Regions from separate parts of the Homo sapiens genome. Here regions 2, 3, 4, 5 and 6 are each linked to region 1. The links are contacts of gene promoters, found by promoter capture Hi-C in blood cells and fetal thymus (Javierre and others, 2016). All regions are on one chromosome and are shown on one strand. The core of a region is centred on a gene start or on the middle of the fragment in contact, and the rest is flanking DNA. Distances in the headings are between cores, read along the strand shown. Region 1 holds the start of ZDHHC18 (zDHHC palmitoyltransferase 18). Region 2 holds the start of DHDDS (dehydrodolichyl diphosphate synthase subunit). Region 3 holds the start of CRYBG2 (crystallin beta-gamma domain containing 2). Region 4 holds the start of CD52 (CD52 molecule). Region 5 overlaps WDTC1 (WD and tetratricopeptide repeats 1). Region 6 holds the start of WDTC1 (WD and tetratricopeptide repeats 1).

The links. Contacts are between HindIII fragments. The CHiCAGO score rates a contact against its expected background, and 5 or more counts as called.
Region 2: the fragment with the promoter of DHDDS here is called in contact with the fragment with the promoter of ZDHHC18 in region 1 in 6 of 17 cell types (total CD4 T cells, total B cells, fetal thymus and 3 more); the score reaches 7.0 in total CD4 T cells.
Region 3: a contact is called between the fragment with the promoter of CRYBG2 here and the fragment with the promoter of ZDHHC18 in region 1, in 4 of 17 cell types (fetal thymus, activated CD4 T cells, neutrophils and 1 more). The highest score is 7.1, in fetal thymus.
Region 4: the fragment with the promoter of CD52 here is called in contact with the fragment with the promoter of ZDHHC18 in region 1 in 13 of 17 cell types (erythroblasts, activated CD4 T cells, total B cells and 10 more); the score reaches 13.5 in erythroblasts.
Region 5: a fragment that was not itself captured here is called in contact with the fragment with the promoter of ZDHHC18 in region 1 in 5 of 17 cell types (monocytes, erythroblasts, M2 macrophages and 2 more); the score reaches 8.8 in monocytes.
Region 6: a contact is called between the fragment with the promoter of WDTC1 here and the fragment with the promoter of ZDHHC18 in region 1, in 11 of 17 cell types (monocytes, non-activated CD4 T cells, neutrophils and 8 more). The highest score is 14.4, in monocytes.

The regions. Positions count from the first base shown.
Region 1 is chr1:26,823,346-26,828,100 of GRCh38, reverse strand. It overlaps ZDHHC18 (zDHHC palmitoyltransferase 18), which reads right to left and starts at 1,413. Exons shown (of 8, transcript NM_032283.3): 1 at 962-1,413. The coding sequence starts at 1,296. RefSeq lists silencers at 1,146-1,355, 1,366-1,515, 1,479-1,631. The HindIII fragment of the contact is 7,154 bases long and covers 1-4,755 here.
Region 2 is chr1:26,430,728-26,435,080 of GRCh38, reverse strand. It overlaps DHDDS (dehydrodolichyl diphosphate synthase subunit), which reads right to left and starts at 2,760. Exons shown (of 9, transcript NM_205861.3): 1 at 2,705-2,760; 2 at 2,073-2,190. The coding sequence starts at 2,135. LOC124903883 (a long non-coding RNA gene) reads left to right here and starts at 2,844. Exons shown (of 2, transcript XR_007065557.1): 1 at 2,844-3,108; 2 at 3,963-4,326. RefSeq lists enhancers at 2,441-2,930, 2,468-3,004, 3,031-3,090, 3,161-3,220, 3,005-3,541. The HindIII fragment of the contact is 8,751 bases long and covers 1-4,353 here.
Region 3 is chr1:26,351,080-26,355,641 of GRCh38, reverse strand. CRYBG2 (crystallin beta-gamma domain containing 2) reads left to right here and starts at 1,512. Exons shown (of 20, transcript NM_001039775.4): 1 at 1,512-1,606. RefSeq lists a silencer at 4,013-4,211. The HindIII fragment of the contact is 7,544 bases long and covers 1-4,269 here.
Region 4 is chr1:26,315,794-26,320,072 of GRCh38, reverse strand. It overlaps CD52 (CD52 molecule), which reads right to left and starts at 2,115. Exons shown (of 2, transcript NM_001803.3): 1 at 2,002-2,115. The coding sequence starts at 2,055. It also overlaps a transcript of UBXN11 not described here. RefSeq lists enhancers at 1,109-1,208, 350-1,335, 1,709-1,858, 1,989-2,058 and a silencer at 2,133-2,325. The HindIII fragment of the contact is 1,957 bases long and covers 681-2,637 here.
Region 5 is chr1:27,305,992-27,310,373 of GRCh38, reverse strand. It overlaps WDTC1 (WD and tetratricopeptide repeats 1), which reads right to left. Exons shown (of 16, transcript NM_001276252.2): 16 at 1,738-4,188. The coding sequence ends at 3,991. Among named protein-coding and RNA genes, the nearest start is that of TMEM222, 14 kb to the left of the region's middle. RefSeq lists enhancers at 1,542-2,066, 2,067-2,592, 2,593-3,118. The HindIII fragment of the contact is 2,559 bases long and covers 114-2,672 here.
Region 6 is chr1:27,232,774-27,237,298 of GRCh38, reverse strand. WDTC1 (WD and tetratricopeptide repeats 1) reads right to left here and starts at 2,667. Exons shown (of 16, transcript NM_001276252.2): 1 at 2,348-2,667. WDTC1-DT (WDTC1 divergent transcript) reads left to right here and starts at 2,870. Exons shown (of 3, transcript XR_947117.2): 1 at 2,870-3,037; 2 at 3,697-3,854. RefSeq lists silencers at 1,988-2,037, 2,198-2,247, 2,438-2,587, 2,788-2,847. The HindIII fragment of the contact is 2,806 bases long and covers 1,403-4,208 here.

The DNA.
Region 1 (4,755 bases), core at 164-2,663:
GATTATGTGTGGGCCAATCCTGGGTCACCGGGGGATATGAAGAGGACAAAAACCTAGGGGGGCAAATATGACCTGTCACACGAAAGCACTCCGAAGTCTTTCCTGAAAAACAACAAGGCACCGCAGCTGTTGCTGATGTGGAACAGGCCAGAGGGACGTTCCAGAATGTTGAGCAGGGAAAGAAAGCCAGGTGGTCAGCAGGGGGGCCAGGGGCCTGGGAGCCGGCTGGGTGGAGGCGGGCGGGATCTGAGGGAAGGACAGGAAGCTCTGGAGAACCTAAGGAAGGTTCTGGAGAAGGAAAGGGGGCCCGAGAGGCCCAAAGATTTTGAGAAAAGATGCCTTGGGGCCTAGGGTGTGCGTGGCTGAGGGGAAGCAAAAGCGGGGTTGGTGTCTGAGACTAGAGAAAAGGAGGGGACCCTGGAGGGACCCGGAGAGGGCAGCGAGGATGACTAGGATGTTTATGGTGGGTGTGCACAGCCAAAGGACACACAAGATCTAGAAGTGGTCAGGAAGGGATACAAGGGTCAGAAAGAACTTGGGGGGTTGGCAAGAGATGGTCCAGGGATGGGTGAGCAGGAGGGGCCTGTTCAAGAAGCCCTGGGGCAGGTTCTGAGAGGGCAGCGAGGATGGGGGCCGTGGAGGGGCATGGAGGCTGGTGTTCCTGGCAGTGGCAGGCAGACAGGTGCCAGGGTGGGGTCAGGGAGAATGGAGGGGCTGGGAGGGTGGAGGGCACCAGCGCGGATGGGGTACCCAAATGGACCAAGGAGGATGGGGCATCTGGCGGGGATGGGGGTGCGCAGGGGCCAGGGGGGCAGACAAGAGGCCCGAGGAGGATCCCAAAGGGGCGGGGAGGATGAGGACCAGGGAGGCGAAGGGGAAGGCACGGAGTGCCCAGCAGGGATTGGGAAGGTGGGGTGCGCGGCAGGGGGCTGGGAGGGGGCGCCGAGGCAGCGGAACTCACTCAAAGACGAAGAAGAGGCCGGTGGTGGTGAGGATGAGCAGCAGCGTGAGCGCGAAGACGCCGCCGTGGCCGGCCAGCATGAGGCGGCCGCCGCAGTAGAAGCGATTGCGACCCGGGAACACCTCCCACTTGCGCCGTGGGCGGCGGCCGAGGCTCCCGCTCCCGCTGCCGCTGCCGCTGCCGCTGCTGCTCCAGCGCGGCGGGGCGGGGGCGGCGGGCGGCGCGGGCCCGGGGCCCGGAGTCGGGGACGCGGCGGGGCCGGGACGGCGCGCCCCCGGGGAGGCGGGCAGCGGGGCGGCCCCGGGGCTGATCTGCTGGTACTCGCAGTCCTTCATGCAGCCAGCCGCGGGCCTCGGCTCCGCGCCCCGCGGGCCGGCCGGGCCACTCCGGGACCGGGCCGAGCAGCGGAGGTGGCAGCGGCGGCGCGCGCGGCGCTCGCTCGCTCACTCACTGGGGCGGCCCCGCCATCGCTCCGCCCCCGGCCCGCCGCCACCGCCCGCCGCGGCCTCCCGCCGCAGCGCCCCCTCCGCCTGGGCCCGGGATGGCGCTTGGCCGGAGGCCCAGCTCTGACCCGCGGCGGGGCCCCGCAGGTCCCCGGCCCTCCCAGTCTCCCTTTTCCCTTCTGCACAAAGAGGGGGCCAGCAGACGCGCACTCGAGGGCTCTTTCTGTTCTGCAAGCAAGCCGTTTGTTGGGCGTCCACTGTGTACCAGGCACGGTGCCAAACGCCGAGATTCAGGTGGTGGACTTCGTGATCTACTTCTGGCAGTCTGTAATTCCCCAGGCTTCGCCCATCTCTGAGGGTCGAACTGACAGGCATTTGCAGAGGCAGGCAGGCGCGGGGAGGTGGGGCACACGATTTGCTTTGAAAGCCAGGACCTCTTCTACCTTGAAGTCCAGAGTGCCCACTGGAGGTGTGTGGCACACCCTCTGGCCTCGTTCACCAAGTTCTGTGTCCTGGGCCCAGGCCCAGATTTTCCTAGGTAGCACATAATGTAGAGGGGTCATGCCTGAGGGCCCCAGTGTTTTTTCAGGAATTCTGGGAGTATTCATTTTCTACTGCTGTGTAACAAGTTACCACAAATTTAAGGCTTAAAACAAACATTATCGGCCGGGCGCGGTGTCTCACGCCTGTAATCCCAGCACTTTGGGAGGCCGAGGTGGGTGGATCACAAGGTCGAGAGAGACCATCCTGGCCAATATGGTGAAACCCCGTCTCTACTAAAAATAAAAAATTAGCTGGGCATGGTGGCACGGCATCTATAGTCCCAGCTACTCGGGAGGCTGAGGCAGGAGAATTGCTTGAACCCAGGAGGTGGAGGTTGCAGTGAGCCGAGATTGTGCCATTGCACCCGGCCTGGTGACAGAGCAAGACTCCGTCTCAAAAAAAACAAAAAACAAACGTTATCTAACAGGTTCCAGGTCAGGAGCCAGAGAACAGCTTAGCTGGGTCCTCTGCTTAGTCTCACAAGGCTGCAATCAGGCTGCATTCTCATCTGGAGACTCAGCCAGGGAAGAATCCACTTGCAAGCCCATTTGGGTTATTGGCAGAATTAACTTCCTTGCGACTGTTTAACTGAAGAGGGCCTGGGATTTTTGCTGGGTGACTGTATAACTGAGGAGGGCCTGGGATTTTTGCTGGGTGTCTGCTGGAGGCCTCTCTCAGGATCCAAAAGCCACCTGCAGTTCCTAGAGATTATCACATTTCCTTGCCATGCAGGTTTCTCCTACATAGCCACTTAGTTTCTTGAAACTGACAATGAGGGTCTCTAGCTCCAGACTATGATGATAGAGTTTTATATAACTTACTATATATGTGACAGAGTGGCATCCCATCATCATTGCCATCTCCTATGGTTAAAAGCAAAGCACAGGAGCCATCTGCACTCAAGAAAAGGGAATCACACAAGGCGTAAATACCAGGAGGCAGGAATCATTGGGGGTCAGCTTAGGGTATGTCTGTCACACTGTGGTTACTGTAAAACCTAAGGAAAAGTGCAAGGAAAAAAAGAACTGGAGACTAGGAGAAAGTAAAAAAGGAAGTAAAAATATACAATGGGGAGGAGTAGGAAGCCGACAACAGTGACCTTAAGGATCAATAATTGATATATATGCCAAAGGCTGCTCAGCCGTGCCTTTGGTGCCAAAGGCTCTCAATATGATGAGCCCCATCTTGAGCAAACCACATGGTGAGCTTCCTCCCTTTTTGCTCCTTGGCTGTGGAACAAAGTCACAAAACTAGACATACTGGTTCCAGTACAGATTCCTGTTGTCCCACCTTAACTGGGTCCTCTTGCAACCTGAAACCTTTTCTTTTTTCTCGTCACTTTACAGAAACCAAAGCAATCCTACTGGATTTTCAGTTTACCTCCTCTCTATCTCATAATTTCTCTTTATTTGCATCTGTCCTTTCTTCTTTTTTAGAAGATGTGGGCCTCCTTCTGTCCATGGCCAACCCTCCACTCATATCCTTATTTTATTTTATTTTTTATTTTTTTGAGATGGAGTTTCGCTCTTGTCACCCAGGCTGGAGTGCAATGGCATGACCTCGGCTCACTGCAACCTCTGCCTCCTGGGTTCAAGTGATTCTCCTGCCTCAGCCTCCCAAGTAGCTGGGATTACAGGCATGTGCCATCATGCCCGGCTAATTTTTGTATTTTTAATAGAGACGGGGTTTCACCATGTTGGCCAGGTTGGTCTCGAACTCCTGACCTCAGATGATCCGCCTGCCTCGGCCTCCCAAAGGGTTGAGATTACAGGTGTGAGCCACTGCACCTGGCCTCTTTTTTTTTTTTTTTTAAGTAAGGCTGATGGAACTCCATTTTATTTATTTATTTAAGCCCAATAGAACTCCAAACTCATGTCCTATCTCTCTTCCTGTTCATTAATACCGCAAACACATGCTCAATTCTACATCAATTAAAAAGCAAGGCTGGGCGCAGTGCTCACATCTATAATGTCAGCATTTTGGGAGGCCAAGGTGGGAGGATTGCTTGAACCCAGGAGTTCAAGACCAGCCTCAGCAACATTGCGAGATGCCACCTCTACAAAAATAATTAAAAATTAGCTGGACATGGTGGCATGCACCTGTAGTTCCAGCTACTTGGAAGGCTGTGGTGGGAGGTTTGCCTGAGTCCAGGAAGTCAAGGCTGCAGTGAGCTGTGATTACGCCACTGCACTCCAGCCTGGTGACAGAGCAAGACCCTGTCTAAAAAAAAAAAAAAAAAAAAAAGCCAGGCGTGGTGGCTCACATCCCAGCACTTTGGGAAGCCGAGGCGGGTGGATCACAAGGTCAGAAGTTCGAGAACAGCCTGGCCAACATGGTGAAACCTCATCTCTACTAAAAAAATACAAAAAATTAGCTGGGCATGGTGGCATGCGCCTGTAATCCCAGCTACTCGGGAGGCTGAGGCAGGAGAATTGCTTGAACCTGGGAGGCGGAGGTTGCAGTGACCCGAGATCATGCCATTGCACTCCAGCCTAGGCGACAGAGCAAGACTTCGTCTCGAGAAAAAAAGAAAAGAAAACCCTAAAAAACCCAATGGAGCTTCCCATGGTTGGCTACCTTCTCACCTTAGTTCAGATTTATCTTTCTCATTATCATTAGGATCATATTAAAGAGTTGCTACCAGGCAGGGCATGGTGGCACATGCCTGCCATCCCAGCACTTTGGGAAGCTGAGGCAGGCAGCTGGCTTCAGCTCAGGAGTTCGAGATCAGCCTGGGCATCATGGCAAAATCCCTCATCCCCTATGATTTCCTAACTTTTTACAAGTTGGCCCCTGTCTACATCACTC
Region 2 (4,353 bases), core at 1,511-4,010, 390 kb after region 1:
CTGAGATTGTGCCACTGCACTCCAGCCTGGGCGACAGAGTGAGACTCTGTCTGAAAAAAAAAAATTGTTTTTCAAAGCAAACAAAAAAGACTTTTTTTGAGCCAAACAAAACTTACTTGGGGCCGGACGTGGTGGCTCAAGCCTGTAATCCCAGTACTTTAGGAGGCTGAGGTGGGCAGATCACTTGAGGCCAGGAGTTCGAGACCAGCCTGGCCAACATGGTGAAACCCCAACTCTACTAAAAAAAAAAAAAAAAAAAATTAGCCAGGCATGGTGGCCGGTGCCTATAATCCCAGCTACTTGGGGAGGCTGAGGTGGGAGAATCGCTTGAACCCAGGAGACAGAGGTTGCAGTAAGCCAAGACTGCACCACTGCACTCTAGCCTGGGCAACAGAGTAAGACTGCATCTCAAAAAAGAAACCACAAAAAACAAAACCCTTATTTGGCTTGGAGCAGCTTTGAGTTGTCTCCCATAACACAAATGGACTCCTTAGCCTATTTTTCCTCACCTGGGAGGGCTCTTCCCTGACTGCTTCCTCATCAACACTTCTCCTTTTTCTACTTCTGTCTCACATACAGCCTTTCCAGCCCCCAAAATCCATTCAAGTTATGCAGCTTGTTCTTCCAAACATACCACTGCAGTGGTTCCCCAAGGAGATACTTCCCATTTCCTGGACTGCTTGAGATCACTTGGCATTTGTTTGTGAGCATGTGTGGGGCTTGTATAAAGGTTACTGACTCATAAATTCATTACTACCTGCTGCTTGACAGCCTGTGGTTGAAAAACAAAACCAAGCTGACTGGCCCCAATCTCAAACCTGTCTTAGGCAGATATAATATTGCTGTGATTCCTAGAGAAAAAGCTGAGGGAAGATTTGGGGAAGATAGGAGATAATAGTCTTCAAATGTCTGAAAGACAATCCTAATAATAATTAAGAACTGCTAGACATTATGCTAACTGCTTTATATTAATGTCTCATAAATTCTCATGATAATTCTACAGTTGTTAAAGTCACATGATTACTAAATGATAGAACTGGACTTTCAGGCCAGGTGCAGTGGCTCAGTCCTATAATCCCAGCACTTTGGGAGGCTGAGATAGGTGGATCACCTGAGGTCAGGAGTTCGAGACCAGCCTGGCCAATATGAGAATCCCATCTCTACTAAAAATATAAAAATTAGCCATGTGTGGTAGCATATGCCTGTAACCCCAGCTACTTGGGAGGCTAAGGCAAGAGAATTGCTTGAACTTGGCAGATGAAGGTTGCAGTAAGCCAAGATTGCGCCATTGCACTCCAGCCTGGGCGACAGAGCGAGACTCCATCTCAAAATAAAAAAAAGAACAGGAATTTCACCCATGTTTGTCTGCGTCTAGAGCCCAAACTCTTTTTTTTTTTTTTTTTTTGAGACAGAGTCTTGTTCTGAACTCTTTTTTTTGAGACAGTCCCGTTCTGTCACCCAGGCTGGAGTGTGGTGGCACAATCATGACTCACTGCAGCTTTGACCTGGGCTCAAGAAATTCTCCCACTTCAGCCTTCCGAGTAGCTGGGACTACAGGTGCACACCACCAAGCCCTGCTATTTTTTTAATTTTTTGGAGAATCGGGGTTTTGCCATGTTGCCCAGGCTGGTCTCAACTCCTGAGCTCAAACAATCTGCCCACCTCAGCCTCCCAAATTGCTGGGATTACAGGCGTGAGTGACCGGGCCCAGCTCTACTGACAGATCAAAGAATATATCAAAGATTAACCTATTTAAATCAAGAAGACAGTACATGGAACAATGGATCAATGTTCCAGGGAAACAAATTTCAGTTCTCTATAAAGAATACTTAGCAGTCTAGGCTGCCCAGTGACATTAAGAGGCCTGGGCTTCCAGAAAATATCAGAGTTAGGACAAAAGTCTACCAGAAATGTAGACCTGGAAGTTACCATTCTAAGACTCTTTGGTTTCCTTGCTAAATTCCACTTAACATCATGAATTGCACTTAACATCATCAACTTTAATAACAGGTTTTTATATAAGATTATCCAACTGACCAGAAGGCCAACCGGTGCTCTGGGCCATTGCTCACCTTTATGATGTTGGCACAGAACCGCTCCCAAAGTGACAGCTCTCCTTCCTTGATCCATGACATAGTTCTTTTCCAGTCAGAAGATCACTCCAGAACAAGCAAACACCAGCCAGGTAATCTTGGATAAACAAGAAAGAAAATAAGAAGTCACCAAGGTTTGCGAAGAGCTATAACTGACTTCTGGGGAATCAGATGGACTATGGAGAGCAGCCAGCATTAGAATCCAAAGACACTGGTCTAAGCCTATAATCTTTTACCACCCAGAGTTTTATAACGCAATGTGACCTCTGGAGGCAAAAGCCTTTCCTCGGTTCTCCTGGCTTTGCAGACTTCTTCCCATTCCCATTTCCTCCGTATCTGCACTGACTTCTTCTGAACATCTAAGTCGGTTTCCTGCCACATCATGGTGCCCACATCTTGATCATTCCCCGTTTCTTCCTTCTCCATCTTCCCCTAAGCTGTTTCCAACTCTGTGCTCCCAGTTACTAACTCCTTCAGTTATCGCACGCCTAGTACTTCACGCCTCAGTGGTCTCCTGATTATTCCCTCAGTCGTCCCTTTGCTTCTCCCGCAGCTGCTCCCCGCCCAGTCACCCTCTTCTCCTCTAGTTCACCCCTTCAGTTCAGTGGCACCTGATTAGCTCCGCTGGGCGCGTCCCCACGGCTTCAGTGGGCCGGCACTTCCTCATGACGTGGCGCTGGCAGAACACGTCATCTTTGGGCGCTGCGACACGCCCCTTCCGTCACCCAAACTGAGGGGACCCTGCCCTGCGCCTGCGCCTGCGAGCTAGTGGGAGGGCGGTTCTCAGTCCCGCGGGGTGTGGAAGCCGGCGCGGGTGAGAGCCAGGCTCACGTGACCGAGCGGGGCGGGAGGCTGGGCTCCAGGCCACGTGCTGGGAGACCAGCTGGGGAAGACAGGGTTGAGCCCAGCGTTGGGAGCGGAGGCGTCTGGAAAACGCGCCAGGGAAATGAGCCAGGGGCAAGAATCGAGGCGCTTCTCGGCCGTCGAAGGCAGCTTAGGACTGCTGAGAGACTGGGTAAGGCAGCGTCCTTACCTTGGAATGCCGCAGAACCGGGCTTCATTAGAGCACTGGTGCATACTCTTAAAAATTATCTCGTTACCGTTTCGTATTTTATTTAGTGGATTTAATCGTCTGGGAAGGAGTTTCTAGCCGCAGCCAATCTTACAGACGCGCAGAATATTAATCTATTTTGTGCCGACTTAAGGCACGCATATTTTAGGATTTGTGGATTCCCAAGACCTATCCCAACGAACTCAAGAGAAGGGGTAAGGCCAGAAAGATTTCTGCCATAAGAATGACTTCTAGGCCAGGCGCGGTGGCTCACGCCTGTAATCCCAGCACTTTGGGAGGCCGAGGCGAACGGATCACCTGAGGTCAGGAGTTTGAGACCAGCCTGACCAACATCGTGAAACCCCGTCTGTACTAAAAATACAGAAAATGAGCCGGGCGTGGTGGCGGGCGCCTGTTATCCCAGTTACTCGGGAGGGTGAGGCAAGAGAATCGCTTGAACCCGGGAGGCGGAGGTTGCGGTGAGCCAAGATCAGGCCACTGCACTCCAGCCTGGGCAACAGGAGCGAAACTCTGTCTGAAAAAAGAAAAAAAAAAAAAGCATGACTTCTAAAATAACAGAAAGGTGCTCGCTTTGGCAGTACATAAATGAAAATAACAGAAATTAACCCTGGTAGAAAAGTTAAGGGCATTAGCTCTACTGAACCTTTACGAAAAAAAGGGTTGCAAGAATTCTAGGCTCACAAAACAAATTTGTAGTTCAATTTTCTCAAAATTGAAAGAGGAGGAAAAAATTCTTTACAGATTCTTATACAACCAGTATTATTTTTATTTATTTATTTATTTATTTATTTATTTAGAGACGGAGTCTGGCTATGTCGCCCAGGCTGGAGTGCAGTGGCGCGATCTCGGCTCACTGCAGCCTCCGCCTCCCGGGTTCAAGCGTTTCTCCTGCTTCATCCTCCTGAGTAGCTGGGACTACAGGCGCGTGCCACCAAGCCTGGCTAATTTTTGTATTTTTAGTAGAGACAGGGTTTCACCATTTTGGCCAGGATGGTTTTGATCTCTTGACCTCGTTATCTGCCTGCCTAGACCTTCCAAAGTGCTGGAATTACAGGCGTGAGCCACCGCGCCCGGCCACAACCAGTATTTCTTGCAAAGCATAATACAACTTTATGTAGTATTATGTTTTGAGTGGAATAAAAATTCACAATTGTCAAAGAACCTTTTTGTCGCATTTCATTTTACAAT
Region 3 (4,562 bases), core at 263-2,762, 470 kb after region 1:
CTTGTCTCTTGAGGTGGTCAGCCCCTGGGGAATGAGAGGCTGCATCTGTTTCATAGATGAGTAAATTAAGGCATTTGGCAGCAAGGATCCCTGCTAGGCGGAATTTTGACCTCCTCTGTTGCCAAGGAAACAGCCCATCTTTTAAAACGGGTCGTTTTGGGGGCAGTGTCCATCTGGGTCTGGGGTGCTGAGCCCTCTCCTCTTATCCCCACAGCCAGGCTGGACCCCAGGGGAAGACAGCAGAAGAGGTCAGGTGTTGTCCCATTTCAGGGGAACCCTCTTCTCTGGCTCCCTTATATCCCAGGTACATCCTCCCAGGTGTTCTGTCTCAAGCTGGGAGGGTACAAGAGAGGTGGCCGCAGTCTCTCTGTTAGCTTGGAATGGGCAGAGGCCATGGGCACTTGAGGCAGGCCTTCCCACCCAGCCCTCAGCCCCAGGGCGGGGAAGCACCTCAGGACTGCAAGGAAGCTGAGATCTCCAGCCTTTGGGGGGCATGGCCGGCCAGGCCCTGGGTGCCTTGTCACCTGGGAGGGAGTGCGGCACCTGAGCGTTGGGAGCCCTCGCTGGCTTGCTGTGTGATCTCAGTCATGTCGCCGTCTTCTTTGGGCCCCACTTTCCTCTTACGTAGAATGGGAAGGGGTGAGTTAAATGCTGAAGGGCCTTCCCAGAGCTCTGTCCCTTTGTCCAGCTCTGGTGGCCTTAGCAGCCTCTCCCTAGGGCAGCTTACCTTGGTGTCAGAGCCCTGTTCAGCTTCCTTGTGACAGGGAAGATACCAGGTACCAGGGGTGCCTGGAGGGCAGGGGGAGCTGTCACTATGCCCCTGCCTCTCTCAGTGTCTATCTCTGTTTTCACCCAGGCCCAAGGCCAGAGCTGCTCAGAATGGGACATCCATGTAGGGGACCATGATGATTTCTGGATTTGGAAGCAACAAGGAATCTCGGGGGGTCCTGCTCAGTCCCTGGGGCGCCTACAGAGGCCAGCGGTGGGCAGCGCCTTCGACCTGGCCAGCCATGCCTCCCTGGGGCCTGAGAGCCTGGCCCTGGAAGTGGCCTCAGGAGAGTCTGCTCGTACCAGGCTCCCCCAATACCCAGGGCCTGCTCCTGGACATGGGGAGCAGGGATCCTCAGGCTGCACCTGTCAGCAGTCTCCACCCACAGCTTCAGAGGTCCCTCTGAGGCCTGAGCCACCCAGCAACCTGGAAGACGCACCCCTGCTGCTCCACCCTGCATCCTTCCCCAGGGCAGAGGGGACAAAGGGCAAGCCCGCCACCCCAGGGACTGCCTTGCCAGAGCCTGCCCAGACCCTACACACGCGTCCCTCTTCCAGGAGGACCCGCTACTACATCACTGTCACCCTGCTGGGGCACAGGCAAGCACCAGGGGAGGAGGGTGAAGAACCGGCCCAACCAGCTCCACACCTCTGCGGCCCTGAGGAATCTGAGGGCTGGTGGGAGCCTCCCCAGGGGCCACGCCCCATCACAGGGTGCCGGACGGCCCCGCCTCAGGAACCCCAGCTGAGAGCCCAATCGCATCAGGGGAGCACGGCCCAGCAGCAGGAGCTCCAGGCTGGCTGGACACCTGGGTCCCCACGCAGACTGTGAGTAGAGGTCGGTCTGTGTGTGGAGATGGGAGGGGAGACTGGCCTGGCTGCCCTGTCTTGAGACTTTGCCTATTCCCTGGGCCTCTCCAGCTCTAGGCCCATTCATTCAGGACCCTGAGCCGACTCTGCCTTCCCTCCCTGCTCCAACCCTGCCTTCCTCTCCCTCCCTTTGCCCACAGGCTACCTCCTGGAACCCACTGCTTCTCACCCCCACTGTCCATCTGAGAAAGGGGAAAGTCTGTCAGGGAGAGGATGGGCAGGAAGGGGGGTTGCCTTCTTCACAGCATACACCACTCCCCAGTTCTGTTCAGGAGGCCACAGACTCAGCCTGGGAATTGGCACCCAGCCTAGGTGCTGGGTGTCCTGAGGCGAGTTGCTTAACCTCTCTGGGCCTTGAGTTGTTGAGAGGATTTGGTAGCTGAAAATGAGGAAGGAGGAGGTGGCTACAGGAATATACTTTGAACTCCAGAGACTGGGGGTGCCAAAATAGCAGGGATGCTTATTAATTACGTCTCAGTGACAGCAATAATTACCCCACCTGGCTCTGAGCTGGAAGCCAAAGGAGTGGGTGTCGAGTTTCCCAAGCCTAGTTTTATTTGTGTTGAAATGACTCTCCTAAATCTGCCTGGGGGGCGCAGAGGTGGAAGGATATGTCCCCCAAAGCTCATCAAGGAGGGATGAACATGGAACCTCCCAGGGATGACCCTGAAGAGGAAATGAGCCTGGGGTGGGGTTTTGAAGGGTGCTTAAGGATGATGGGGTGGCTGTCATTTGCAATTTGTTTTCTAAGCATAATTTTATTTAATCTTCCCAACCATCCCATGAGTAGGGACTGATCCCAACCCCTGTCACCTAATTCTAGGAGGCTCTGAAAGTCACTTGCTCAAAGTCAACTAGAAAGTGAAGGGGCTAGAATCTGAACTTAGGTTTCTATAACTCCAGTGCCTGTGCTCTAACCACTGCTCCATCCTGCCTGGAAGAAACCTCTTTGGCCCTGTGCAGAGAGTGGAGGGTTGAGTGAGGTTGCTGTGTGGGCTCCAGGGTTTTCTAGGCTCCTATGGCGGTGGATTGGGCAGCATTGTAGTAGCAGAGGCAGAATCAGGAATGCTGGGGTCCTCCAAGCAGGGGTCAATGTGACTGCTTCCGTGCCAAGGAAGAGGGAGATGTAGGACCCAGGCTGGCTCTGAGACCTGCTTGGATGCCCCAGAAGTCAGGGGCTGGGGGACAAGGGCTGCAGAGAGAGGGAAGGGGGGTGGAGGAGGCTACCTTGGAGAGGGGGACGGGAAAGAGAAGTAGGGTTAGCTGGGGGGAGGTGGTTTCTATCTGCCACTACCTGGGTATTTTGGGCCCAGGTGGATAATGACAGACTCAGGTGGGAGGCTAGGGCTCACTTAGAGTGGGGGGCAGGTGACCTCCAGAAACATCATCCTTCTATGTCCCCTTCCTGGGAGAAGGTTCTCTGGGCCAAGATTGGCAAATATGGGAGTCGAGAAGAAGTGAGACATAGCTGGGACTGCCAGTGGGAATGTGTAAGATACGTGTGCATCCAAGCGTGTGTGTCCACGTTCAGGGGTAGGTGAATTTCAAGGGGAAGAGAGCTTGGGGCTGTGAATTGACTGTGTGTGTATTGTGAATGTGTGCACGTGTGTGTCACTGTGCCTGTGTTTCTGTCTGTATGTGATTTGTGTGTCTGTTGTGGCTCTGAGTGCCTGTGCGTGTTTGTATTTCTTGGGTGAGTGTATATTTGTGTGTGTGTCCCTGGTTGTGTATGTTTTTATAGGCTTCTAGGTGTATCTTTGTGCCTGTGTGATTGTGGGTCTGTGTCGGTATCTGTCTGTGTGTCTGTGCCTGCGTCTGTGTGACACAGCATGTGTTTGCCTGCATGTGGGCCTGTGGACTGGTTTGGCCTAGTTTGGGGGTGACTCACAGGTAAGTGGGGAGAATCCAGGACTTGTTGGGTTAGACAAGGCTCTTTCCCACACTCCCCCCGCCCCCTCCTCAGCCTCTCCCTTCCCAGCTCCACACGCCTTGTTTGGAGGTCACAGGTCACGCTGCCAACAAATCCACTTCTGGTCTGGGGCCCTGCAGAAGAAAGGGCTCTGGGAATGGCCCCTTCTGCTGGCCCAGGAGAGGCATCCTGGGTCATTGTATTGGGGTATGTCTTCAGAGCAAGGACAAAAGGGGGCATCTATAGGCAGGCACATTCCAGCAGAGTCTGAAGGACATTCTAGCACTCATGACTGTTCAGGGACGGGGCAGGTGAACTGTCGAGTGGTGACCTCCCTGTCCCTGGAGGTATGCAGGCAGAAGCCAATGACCACATGCTTGTGGAATGACTGGCTATCAGGGGTGTTGTCCAGGGGTTGGGCTGGTTGAGAAAGACGTTAAATTCTGATTGGTAGGAGGTCATCGACAATATCTGATCTCATGATCGGCCGCCTCCTTTAACATTGCTCTCCTGTCGCTTTCCTGATGCCTATGGCGCTTTCCAAATGTCCCTGTTTTTATGTCTAATTCCTTGGCCCCTGGCTTCTTAATATGCCACCTTTCATGAGAAAGTTGGCTCTGGTTCTGGTTGAGTCTAGCCAAGGCCTAGCACATCCCTTGATACAATTAGCACTGAATGAGTGAGTAATTGAATGAATGAATGAATGAGTTAGAGCTCAAGCTTTGCCACTTACTATAAGCACCATCAGAGACAAGGAAGCTCGGAGAGTGGAAGGCAGGTGGACAGGGGCTTAGGAGGTGCTCAGCGAGGGCGTCAAACTTCATTTGGGCAGAGTCCCAGCGAGGAGGGCAGGGGTTGCATGAGGAAAAAGGGAGCTCCCTAATGGGGACAGGGGAGTGGGCTGGGGCCTCAGTGAGAGGCTAAAATCCAGAGCCTTTGGTGTCTGGCTGTGTACTGCTCTCAGGAAGCCCTGGCCTGGGAAAATGACCAGGGCTCTACCTAACCCCTCCACCTT
Region 4 (4,279 bases), core at 866-3,365, 510 kb after region 1:
TCTCGGCTCACTGCATCCTCCACCTCCCGGGTTCAAGTGATTCTCCTGCCTCAGCCTCCTGAGTAGCTGGGACTATAGGCACGTGCCACCACGCCCGGCTAATTTTTCTATTTTTAGTAGAGACGGGGTTTCACCATGTTGGTCAGGCTGGTCTCGAACTCCTGACCTGGTGATCCACCCGCCTCGGCCTCCCAAAGTACTGGGATTACAGGTGTGAGCCATCGTACCCAGCCCTCAGGGGACTTTTGAATAGCGTGTTTGTTATTTAAAGATGCAGTCCCCTTTCTACCCTCCCCGCCCTCCATCCGCCCACCTCCATAAAACAGTCCTCAGTTCTGCCCCATGTGACCACTACTTCTTCCACAAGGTCCTGTCAGGATGTTTGACTGCTTCCTGCTTTGACACAGGCAGGGACAGAGGTGATCACTGCCCCTGTCCACCCCCTTTCACAGAAACTTTCTGTTTTTTTGAGATAGAGTTTCGCTCTTTTGCCCAGGCTGGAGTGAAGTGGCATGATCTCGGGTCACTGCAACCTCCACCCCTCAACCTCCCGAGTAGCTGGGATTATAGGCAGCCGCTATCACGCCCAGCTAATTTTTTTTTTTTTTCCGAGACAGAGTCTTGCTCTGTCGCCCGCCCAGGCTGGAGTGCAGTGGCGTGATCTCGGCTCACTGCAAGCTTCACCCCCAGGTTCACGCCATTCTCCTGCCTCAGCCTCCCGAGTAGCTGGGACTACAGGCGCCCGCCACCACGCCACGCCCGGCTAATTTCTTTTTGTATTTATGGTAGAGACGAGGTTTCAATGTGTTAGCCAGGATGGTCTCGATCTCCTGACCTCATGATCCACCCGCCTCAGCCTCCCAAAGTGCTGGGATTACAGACGCGAGCCAGCGCGCCCGGCTCGCCCAGCTAATTTTTGTATTTTTAGTAGAGACGGGATTTTGTCATGTTGGCCAGGCTGGTCTTGAACTCCTGACCTCAGGTGATCCGCCTGCCTCGGCCTCCCAAAGTGCTGGGATTATAGGCGTGAGCCACCGTGCCCGGTCACAGAACCTTTCTTTTCACCTTTCCCCAGCGACCAGCCCTTCTGGCATAGAGGGAGACAGGGGAGCCCTGGCCCTTGACCTTCCTAGCCTGGCAAAGGGCTTAGCTTCCCTGAGCCTCAGTTTCATCTTCTGAGTGGGGAGAAGTTCATCACAGTTGTGAAGGTCACATGAGCCAGGGCTGAGTGAGAAAGCACTTGGCAAAGCGTGGGTGGCTGGATGTGGGGTGGGGAAGTGGCCAGATGGTGATCGAGCTGTCCTTAATGCTTGATGGAGCTGCAACTAGAACTGTTCTTGATGGAGATTAAGCTGGTTTTGATGGTGATCAAGCTGTTCTTGATCAAGAACTTGATGGCTCCGGTCTGCTGTACTGACTCCCCTCTGGGCACCTGGGATGCTACCAAAGCTGCCTCCTGGAATAGCAGTCGCTTTTGAGACTCCAGTTGTTTCTGAAATGGGAGAGTCCTGTCTTCTTTGCATTCCTGAACATCCAGGCTTCTCTCTGGCAGGGGAGTGGGGGTTAGAGTGTCCCCTGTCACCTCCATAACCACAGCAGGCTCCACTTGGACATCTCCTGGCCTCTCCCCAAAGGACCATCTCCCCAGACTCCCTGTGGGCCGATGCCTTCCTCACTCAGGGTTGTCTTCCCAAGTCTCTTAGTTCTCTATTATTCCACAACACCCCTTGGGTGCCCCAACGCGCCTAGCACCCTGTAAGTGCTCCCCAGCTGTGGATACAGGTTTCTCTCAGGGCAGCCCGCAAGCAGTGCAGCCCCAGCCAGAAGAGCTGGAAGGCTGGGCGGCCAGGCCCGCTGTGTCCCCAGTTTTCCTGTTGGAGTCCATCTGCTGTGCTCTCAGGAGAGAAGGCTGGGTCTCTGGGAGCTCACATCCTGTATGCCCTCCCTCCATGCCAAGCAACTTTGGGGAGTCCTGGCAGTGGTGCCAGGCGTTGCTCTTACCTGTACCATAACCAGGAGGCTGATGGTGAGTAGGAGGAAGAGGAAGCGCTTCATTTTGGTAGGATCTTCGTGGCTGTCTTGGTAGCAGCTTTTTAGGTGATCTCAGGGCTGTCTGGAGGCTTCTTTTGGTTTAGCTGCTTTTGAACCAGGAGGCAGAGGAGGCGGGGTGAGGTAGGGAGAGGAAGGAGGGCTTACAAGGTGGAGGAGGGGTGTGGCTTCCTTTCTGCAGATCTGGGGGTGGATAATACCAGGCTCTAGGTTCTAAGGCCCTGGCTGGGGGAGCAGGCTAGATCGTACAAGATAGGAGAGAGGTCAATCCAGAGGCAACGGTGGGAGTAAGTAGGGCCCAAGGCCTGGAATCATGCATCCTGCAGGCTGAATCCTGGTTTAATCACTGACCAGCTCTGAGACCCTGGGCCAGAAACTCTACCTCTCTGACCCTTTAACAAAAGAACTGCCGGATTACATGTAATAATAACCAATTTAAAAAGAGCCAGAACATAGCAGATATTCCGTAAATGAGTTTGTTGTTTAAAGAAGATTGGGGCAGGGTATAGGAGCTGAAGGAGAAGGGCTGGGATAGATTTATGTTTCAAGGGAAGGTTGTAGATGGGCTGCAGGTTCTGAATGAAAGCTTGGGAAATGTTTAGATTGTGGAAGGGTTGGTGGATTTCTGTGAAGGTGCTGGAGGTGAGGAATCGGGAAGCCTGGTTTCAGTTGGGCTTTCCCTCTCTAGGCCTCAGTTCCTCATTTCAAGGAACTGGGAAGACTGAAATAGATTATTTCTGAAGTTTGTTAAAACCTAGTGTTTTGTTTTGTTGTTGTTGGTTTTTTTGTTTTTTTTTTTAAACAGAGTTTTGCTCTGTGCACTGGCATGATCTCGGCTTACTGCAACCTCCACCTCCTGGGTTCAAGCAATTATCCTGCCTTGGCCTCCCGCATAGCTGGGACTACAGGTGTGTGCCACCATGCCTGGCTAATTTTTTGTATTTTTTTTTTTTTTTTAGCGGAGACTGGGTTTCACCATGTTGGCTAGGCTAGTCTCGAATGCCTGATCTCAAGTGATCCGCCTGCCTCGGCCTCCCAAAGTGCTGGGATTACAGGCATGAGCCACCGCGCCCAGCCAAGACCTAGAATTTTGTGATTTTGGTAGAGAAAGTAGCAAGCAGATGGGTTGTTTGTATTAGCTGAGGATGAATGGGAGGGGAGCGAGGGAAGGGACAAGTGGGTGACTAAGCTACAGTGGAAGGGGACTGGGGTGAGAGAGTGGCTGTGAGGGCCCAGGGAGGGGTGGGGGGATGAGAGGAATCCCACAGCTGCCTGGATAGTGCTCCATGCTTTATGCATTCCCTCACTTGATACCCTCTGTGGTGCCCTGCAGCAGGTGTTATGTTTATCCCCATTTGACTGGTGAAAAAACTGAGGCTTAGATGTTAAGTGACTTGCTAAGGTCGTAAATGGTGGAGCCAGTCTCATTTGACCTTGAATCCAGGTCTGTCTGAAGCCACAGCCATGTATGTAACCTCTGGGGCTGCCCTAGAATTCATCCATTAAGTCTTGATTCCCTGCCACTCCCTCCCCCTCCCCTACACAAACTCCCCCCAGGCCCCAGGAGTTGGTCACCACAACCCCAGCTCTGGCCCACTCTCCCTTCACACTCTCCCTTCCTTAGTCTACTTTAGGCCTCATTTACATGCTAGGTAGTAAAGGGAAAACTCCCCTCACTTCTCTTCTATTGTTTTGGGCCTTGTGTTGCAAGCCCAGGGGAGATCTGGCTGAGGCTGAGTCCAAAGAAAAAAACAGAGGCTGGGCATAGGGGCTACGCCTGTAATCCTAGCAGTTTGGGAGGCTGAGGCGGGCAGATAACTTGAGCACAGGAGTTTGAGACCACCCGGGCAACATAGGAAGGCCCCATCTCTCAAAAAAAAAAAAAAAAAAAAAAAAAATTAGCCGGGCATAGTGGCACAAACCTATAGTCTCAGCTACTTGGGGGCTGACGCAGGAGGATTGCTTGCACCTGGGAGGCCCAGGCTGCAATGAGCCATGATTGTGGCACTGCACTCCAGCCAGGGTGACAGAGCAAGACCCTGTCTCAAAAAAAAAAAAAAAAAGGCCAGGAAACAGTGGCTCACGCCTGTAATCCCAGCATTTTGGGAGGCCGAGGTGGGTGGATCACCTGAGGTCAGGAGTTCTAGACCAGCCTGGCCAACATGGTGAAACCCTGTCTCTACTGAAAATACAGAAATTAGCCAGGTGTGCTGGCACATGCCTGTAATCC
Region 5 (4,382 bases), core at 144-2,643, 480 kb before region 1:
TCCAGCCAGATGGAGTCACTCAGGGTTCATGAAGGAACCTGAGACTCTGCACTACTCCCTGGTCTGGAACATTGTCCTTCCTTTGTCTGGTCTGGAAATGCCTTCAAGAAGCTTCTGCAGACGTTAATTTGGGTACACAGAGGAATGATACCAGCCCACAGTATCTGTTTTATAATACCACCTATTGTGTTTCCGGCAGGACCTCTCAGTAGTTTCAGTAGTGGAACTGCTATTCCCACAGACTAAACCATAGTTCCCCAACTGTGCATCAAGGTGCCTGAGGGCACCCACAGCAAATTCACAGGGGGCAAAGTAGGATATTTTGAAAGATATTCAACATCTTTGGCTAATGAGAGAACTATTAGCTCAAGGTAGTTCACAGTTCCATTATTACATTATGCCACAATCCTTTTGATGATGTCATCTTTAAGAAGCTGGGTCTTGGCCGGGCGCAGTGGCTCATGCCTGTAATCCCAGCACTTTGGGAGGCCGAGGCGGGTGGACCACAAGGTCAGGAGAGCGAGACCATCTTGGCTAACGTGGTGAAACCCCATCTCTACTAAAAACATAAAAAATAAGCCAGGTCTGGTGGCAGCTGCCTGTAGTCCCAGCTACTCAGGAGGCTGAGGCAGGAGAATGGCATGAACTCAGAAGGTGGAGCTTGCGGTGAGCCGAAATCGCACCACTGCACTCCAGCCTGGGCAACAGAGCAAGACTCCGCCTCAAAAAAAAAAAAAAAAAAAAAAAAGAAGCTGGGTCTTTAGTGGTTGCTGTGATAAAAAGCAAATGAAAATCAATGTGGGACAGGAAATGAAGGCAGCAGTGTTTGCTTTGATTAGAAAATTTAACAAGTTGTTCAGTGCCCAATGGGCAGCATAGATCCCATTAGTAATTGCAGTTGTTTAAGAATGAAGGCTGGGCGCGGTGGCTCACACCTGTAATCCCAGCACTTTGGGAGGTTGAGGCGGGCAGATCACCTGAGGTCAGGAGTTTGAGACCAGCCTGGCCAAGGTGGTGAAACCCCATCTCTGCTAAAAATACAAAAAATTAGCTGGGTGTGGTGGCGGGCACCTGTAATCCCAGCTACTTGGGAGGCTGAGGCAGGAGAATCGCTTGAACCCAGGAGGCGGAGGTTGCAGTGAGCCGCAATTGCACAATTGCACTCCAGCCTGGGCGACAAAAACGAAACTGTCTCAAAAAAAAAATAAAAAATAAAAAATAAATAAAAATGCAAAAAAAAAAAAATAGCTGGGCATGGTGGCACATGCCTGTAATCCCAGCTACTTGGGAGGCTGAGGTAGGAGAATCACTTGAACCCGGGAGGCGGTGGTTGCAGTGAGCTGAGATCATGCCACTGCACTCCAGCCTGGGCAACAGAGCAAGACTCCGTCTCAAAAAAAAAAAAAAAAAAAAAGAATGAAATAAATATTGTTTCTTCCAATTCAGGTGTATTATTTTTTAAATGGCAACTAACTTGTTAGGACATAAATACTTTTTAAGTGATTTGGACTTAACTACTTAATAAATTGAACTGTTATTTCTTTTGGCTTAGAGGCTCCATGAAAAAATTACTGAGATGGTAATGGTGCTGTGAGCTAAGAAAGTTCAGGAACCTATAGTCTAAGAGATTATCTAATCCAGGGCACTTCAAAAACTTGCATATGTGAAATCAATTTAGTGGGTTATAGCCATATTTTTTTCCCTAATAAAACAGAAGGGTAAGCAGAGTACACTGCATGTAGCAAGGGTAAATATTATTGTGTAAAACTTTTGTTCATTTTTTTTATATATATATACACACACACATATCTACAAGTAATCATGTGTATATTGGGTCACAATGTAAAATGGTTTGAAAAACCACTAAGATTCCAAGTCCCTTATTTTACTGATGAGAAAACAGCCAGAGAGTGAAAGCTGATGATTACAAATCACAGCCATGAGAGCTGGGCTCTGCACTCAGCCCTGCTGGGCTGGGTGGCCGCTGCTCACGGTGACCCTTCAAGGCAGGCCTCATTCTGTCCAGTAGAGGTGTGGTTACTAAGTCATAGAGCTACAGAGGTGAGGGACCAGGTGCCCTCACTTTGGTTCCAAGACCCATCTGCACCCCACAAATGCCACCAGCCACACCTAGAACAAAATGGTTTTAATCAATTGCGTCACCCTCACTCTCCTGGGAGCGGAGCAACAAAAAGGCTCGGCTCCTGCCCCCAGAGGACAGTAAGGCTTATGTGTCTCTCCACACTGCAGGGCCCAGGCTGGGCAGGCAGGGGGTGGGAAGCAGGACAGGGGGCAGGGAGGGAGGGTGGGAGGCAGGGAGGAAATGGCAGGTGGCTGGAACACAAGAAAGCAAAGGGGACCCAGCTGGTCCTTGGGCCCCAGGGCCCAGCCCCAATACTCCTGCTCTCCCTTCTCCCTGGCTAGAGAAAGGTCACGGAGAAGAGACAGGGGAGCAGGTCCCAGCAGCAGGAGAAGCAGCAGCAGCTGTTTCCTTCACCAATAAATATACTTCATTACCAAGCTAGAAGAGAGGGGTGGGAAGAGGGACTGGGGTGGGAAGGAAGGGGGAGAAGCTGCCACCTGTGTTGCTGGGATTAAAGCAATGAGATGGTGCCAGACCCCCCACCACTATCCTCACCCTCCACTTGTCTTCTTAAAACTGTGAAAAAGCTTTTAACATGGCCCTCCTGTCTCCAGGGCTGCTCTGAAGCCTGACTGAGAGGAGGCACCTGGCAGAGACAGGGGCTGAGGGAGGGAGCGAGGGAGTGGAGGGAGAGGAGAAGGGAGGCTGCTTTTCCCCAGGGGCTGCAGCTGGAGGGCTGGAGCCAAGTAAGCACTGAAGGGGAAGCAGGGAGGGAGAGAGGGGGAAGGATGAACCAACTACCTGGAGCAGCTGGAGCTAAGAGCCGGGGGCAGAGGGGAGGAGAGGCCTGGTGAGTGGTGGGTTGATCGCTGCATCCAGTGTAAAGCTTGGGGCTGCTGGGGAGGGAGGGGCCGAGTAAGGGACTTTCCCATCTGAGTGGCTCAGGAGACCCACCCCTCTCCCCTCAGAGCAGCAGGGGACAGAGAAAAGCCATCACTTCTTTGGTCTTTGTGGCGGCTCAGCATGTGGGATGGGAAGGAGGGCAGAAAGGGCAGAGAAGGGCCCTTAGCAGGAAGCGCCACCTCAGCAGAGTAGGCCTGGCTGGGAGCTCTGGCAGAAAGGTCACAGTGAGGCTGAGGAGCGCCCAAGAGGAGAATGGCCGTAGTGCAGAAGTGCTGGCATGGATGGGTGGGGTAAGGTGCAGTGCCCCACCCTCTGCCAGGGCCCTTGGGAAAGGCAGAGCCTCCAGAGGTGGCCAGTGAGAGTAGGTGCAGGGCCAGAGCTAGTAGCCAGGAGAGGAGCGAGGGTGCTCCACAGCGACCTCAGCAGGTGGCCTGGTCTTGCCCACTCCAGGGCTCCCATCCTTCCTTTGGGCTCCGCTCTAACACTGGTGGCTCTGGAGGGAGGGTGGGACCCATCCTTTTTCAAAACCTTTCCTGAAGACCACAGGGGAGCTAGCCTTGCAGGCTAGGGAGCAAGAGTGGCAACAGGCCAAGGCGAGCCCTTACCAATTGGGAATCCCACTCCTCCTGCTGCTGCCAGCTAAAGGGCAGGACAGTCCCTGAAGACAGTTCAGCTTGTTCCTCCCCACCTGAGGCAGAAGGGGTTTTGAGGCAGGCCAGAGCCCTCCAGGGACATGAAAGCAGGAGATGGGGGGGGGCATATGGAGGGGTGTCCCCTCCTGCTCTTTTTTTCAGGGCTGGGGATAGTCAGGGGACAATCAGCCCAGAGTCCGAAAGCCAGCAAGTTGTAGCAACCTCCACCCCTAACGCCAAACTAACAAACAAAACAGGGGAAATGAAAAAAAAGGGTGGTGGGGAAGACAAACCAAAACAGAATCCCCTGACCTCCTGCCCAGGGCAGAGGGTCCAGCCAGTAGCAGGGGCTGGGGACCAGGGCTGGAGGGTCTAGCTGGGCCGGCACTGCACCTGGCCCTCAGAGCTGTCCTCATCATCAGAGGCCCCGGCACCCCCACTGCTCAGGCCCGTGATCCGGTAGCCCATGTTGAGCAGCATCACCTCCAACGGGTCTGCATTCATGCGCCGCTGGTTGGCCTGTGAAGCACCCTCCATATCTTCCACGACTCGGCCTGTGAGGTCTTCACTCTGTGGTGGAGAAAGGGGTGACACACGTGGGGCTCAGGGAGGGAGAGGCACCAGGGTACACGTATAGGGGAGGGGGAGGGAAATACACAGACTAAACTATCTATAGGGGGAGGTACACATACATGCCAGGAGGTGTATATGGTGGAGGGGAACACACAACCTTGGCTACATATTGTTGGGGGTGCTCACGCTGG
Region 6 (4,525 bases), core at 1,418-3,917, 410 kb before region 1:
CCTTAATTTTTAAAAAGAGAGAAGAGAGTGGTCACGGAGGCCGTGTCTGTAGTCCCAGCTACTAGGAAGGCAGAGGTACGAGAATCCCTTGAGCTCAGGAGTTTGAGACCAGCCCAGGCAACAGAGTGAGACCCCATCTCAAAAAAATAAAAATAAAAGGAGAGGCCAGGTGCGGTGGCTCACACCTGTAATCCCAGCACTCTGGGAGGCCGAGGTCGGTGGATCACGAGGTCAGGAGTTCAAGACCAGCCTGGCCAAGATGGTGAAACCCCATCTCTACTAAAAATACAAAAATTAGCTGGGCATGGTGGCAGGCACCTGCAATCCCAGCTACTTGGGAGGCTGAAGCAGAGAATTGCTTGAACCCAGGAGGCTGAGGTTGCAGTGAGCTGAGATCGCGCCACTGCACTTCAGCCTGGGCAACAGAGCAAGACTCCATCTCAAAAAATAAATAAATAAATACATACATACATAAAGGAGAAAAAAATAAAAATAATTAAAGACCAAGTCATAGTCTAGATCTTCCTTAGCAGTTGGCCCAAGATCCACAAATGTTTGGCAGTGGGCTTCAAGATTTTCAGTTGTCTTTCCAGATCCTAAAGTCTAGGTGTGCAAAAACACCCTACATAAGATGCCCAATGAGTCAATACTGAACTCCTCCCGGCTAAAAAAAACTGTCAATTGTATGAAACTGGTAAATAGTTGTTAACATCATCATCATAATATTTACACGTGTTCTCTCTTTCCCTCGTGACCCTCAATGAAGGTGTCCCAGGCAGAAATATGGGCTACTGCTCAATTATTCGGCAGAGTTGATCCAAAAGCACTGTTCCTTCAAATTGAGATAAGACTCGAACAGAAGTGCTCCCATATAGGTCAAAAAAGGAAAGGAGAGCAGGACTCCAGCCTTAAAGCAGCATGATCACAAACTATGACGGAAAAGGTCATTTCCCACCTGCCAACGAAATACAACAACCTACAATGAAGAAACCTCAGTAAGTCTCAGACTTGGCCCAAAGGAGCCCAACTAGTTACTCCCTGGTCTGTTACAGAGGATCTGGCTATTACACTCAACAGCAAAAATTCAATTCAATCCCGCTAAAGATATAAGAATCACAAGGAAGAATAAGCCAGAACTCAAGACAGAAATAGCATTAAGTAGTTCCTTCAGTACAGTGAGCAGAAGCTGGCCACTCAACGACTCTAAAAGACACAGAAAAGCTTAGTAGGGACCACTGGGCATACCGGTGTCCTAGGTGGGGATTTCGTAACGTCTTTGAGTCAGAAGCTGCCCTCAAAATAGTTTCTTCTCAAAACGGTTTCAGGCTTTGTTAGAAAGGGAAGACTTCACTGCCACTTTACCCAGATCATCTACCCCATCCTTGGAATGAATGGGGAAGCTTCAGCCACCCTACCAGGCTCCTAAAATCACCAACTTGAGAGAAAAACTATAACGTTGCTCTACCAGTACTTCAGGAGGTTAAAGAAAGTCACAGAAGAAAAGAACTCTGGGGAAAACAGTCAAATTCGGCTATTAAGACATTAGTTACAGGCCCCTGTACCTCTCCTCTAGAAACCCTGGGAGTACACCCGCAGAGGAGAGAGAGCCCAAGCCACCAAGCAAAGTCAACCAATCTGGCAAAGGGGCGTCCCACTGCGGCTTTCAGTCCAAGAAGTGGATCCTGCTGGTTCGCAGTCTCTCTTCTATCTCCTCACTTCCTATTTACCCTTTGAAGTGGGTACTGAATAGCCCGTTCCCAAGCAGAGGCCCTTTGTATACGGGGTGCTACAGTCGCCTGGTGGAAACACCTTGGCAGAGTTGTTTGGTGCCAGGATGGGCCACTGAAGGCATCTGCTGTGGACACACACACACACACACACACACACACACACACACACACACAGAAAGAGAGAGAGAAAAACAGAAAGAGAGAGAGCGAGAAGCTAAGAGGGCAGGTCAGGTCGGCGTTGCCCTCCCAGCACTTACACCTGCCCCTTCTTCCTGACTCCGGCGCCAGATCAGATGTCAAACAAAAACTCCGCAAAAAAGTCCCATGATGGAATGACTTCCACCTCTCCCTCCGCAGAGCCTCCCCGGACTCCCACAGCCTCCCCCCGCGTCCCGACCAAACCCTCCGCCCCCACCCCGCCCCCGGACCACTCTGCCCTCCGCCCCGGCGAGGCCTGGCCCCTCTCGGGACACCCGGGGCCCCGAGGCGGGTAGGCTCAGGCCCCCAGGCCGGCAGGGCTGGAGCCGGCCCAGAGCGGGCGGCCCGTTCACCGGGGCTGCGGGAGCCGGTCCCCGCCTCGGCGCCCGCGGAGGGCAGGGGGCGGCGGTGACCCGTACCTGTCAGGTCTCTTCCCCCGACCGGCAGCGGCGCAACTTCAGGAGCCCATGTCCGTCCGGGGGGGGCGGCCCCTCTCCCGGGAAGGGGGGCGCGGATCCCGGGGAGGGGGCTGGGGGGCTCGAGCAGTTCTAGCCCCTTCCCATGCTCCCCGCCCGGCGCCTGGCCGGGGCCGGACAGCGCCTCCGCCCGCCCCTGCGCACCGCCTCACACCCGCGCTCACACACACTCACACTCCCTCGCGCGCTCTCACACACGCACTCCCCTCCCTCCTCCTCCTCTGTTTATCTCCTCCAGCTGTCTGGGGACCCAGGAGAAGCCCAGCAACGCGCCTGCGCCACGCAGTCTCCGCCTCCGCCCTGCGCCTCGCAGCCGGCGGGTACGCTACGAAGACTGCGCCCGGCCGCTTCCAGAATGGCTAGCCGGGCCCCCCCACTTACCCCCCCGCGCCCGGTCAACGTCTGCTGCCGGCGGCGCCCACTAACCTGCTAGTGGGGGAGCCCCGCACCGCCGTGGCCAATGGGCTTCGCCGCTTGCGGGACCGGCAGCCAGTGGGCGGGCGGGAAAGCTGGGCTAAGCCCTGGGGCACCCTGGGAGTCGTAGTTTTTCGCCGTCGAGGAGTTCCTGCAGAGCGGGCTCACCCCGCCCGGTTGCCATTAGTTACCCGGACGCACCTCCCACCCCACCACCGGGTAAAACGCTCCTCACACCGCTTCTGGGACACCCGCCCACACGCTCGCCCACTGAACCCCAGGTCCCCTCACAGCCCCTTAAGAGCTCCTAAGACTTCCTCTCAGCCCCCGAATTCTGGGACCTCTCAGGCTAGGGCCCCGGGGGGCTCCTCAGCCCACTCCTTCCTGCTCTGGGGGGCTGCTGAAGTGGCACAGTCCTCACTGACGTCTCCTGGGCCTTAAGGAAGAGAATGAAAGAGAATCGGGCCTACGCTGAGTAGCCTGGAGAGGAGTCAGCCACACACACTCTGGGTGCCCTCGGGGTGATGGGAGCGACTAGGTCCATCTGACCCTAGCGGAGTCACTGCTGCTCCCACCTCTGAGGAAGAGACGCAGTTCCAGCCTTGTGGAGTCCCGGGTCTGATGGAGGAGAGACCCTCCTCTTTATTAAGGAAGTTCCCAAGGTGACAAGGGTGGCACTAAGCCTATCTTCTTAAGGCAGAGACCAGGCCCCACCCGTGAAACCTCAAGTCAGAAAGGGAAGACGTGTCACCTTCTGACAAAGGAAACTTGTCACCCATAGGGTGCCATTTGTCAGATACTAACAATAATTCACTTTTATTCGCACTGGATTGGGTACAGTCTCTTAGCTAGGTACTATTGCTGTCTGTGTTTTGCAGAAAAGGAAAGCTGAAGCAGAAAGGCTAAAAGCAACTTGCCCCCGGGGTCCTGATAAGTTGGCAAATTGGGAATTAGACCCAGATCTGCCTGACACCAGAGTCTGAGCCTTTTAACACTGCCTGTCTTTCCTGTGAAAACCAGACAGCACCCGCTCTCAGTAAGGACTGAATATATGTATTTGGCATTTATAGTGTTTATCACTCCATGTGTCGCTTGTTTTTTTTTTTTTTTTTTTTTTTTTTTTCCAATTCTGCTCACATCATGAGTACGAATTTGTCTGTGAATACCTGAATACTCCCAGAGACAAAGGTAGTATTCTAATTGCTGGTGATTTCTCCGCAAGGGAGATTTCTCCCCATTTAGAGGAGTAAGAACCTATCCTTGTGAAACCGCTCACAAAGCCTTTTATGCCTTTCTCCTAAAAATATTGTGGGTCATTCCCCCTGAACTCTCCACCACAGCTGTTCTACTGAATATAAAAAATCATAGACTTTGGGACTAGAAGAAAGCTTTGAGATCATCTATCTGCAGCTCCCCAGGTTCAGGCTGCAACCTTGGTTAGGGTCATTGGGTTAATTAAACTGAATAATATCTAACATTTATTGAATACTTACCATGGGAGATAAGTGCTACTAGTGAATTAAGAAATACTCCCGGGCTGGGCGCGGTGGCTCACGCCTGTAATCCCAGCACTTTGGGAGGCAGAGGCGGGCGGATCACGAGATCAGGAGATAGAGACCACCTGGCTAACACGGTGAAACCCCATCTCTACTAAAAATACAAAAAAATTAGCCGGGCGTGATGGTGGGCGCCTGTAGAACCAGCTAC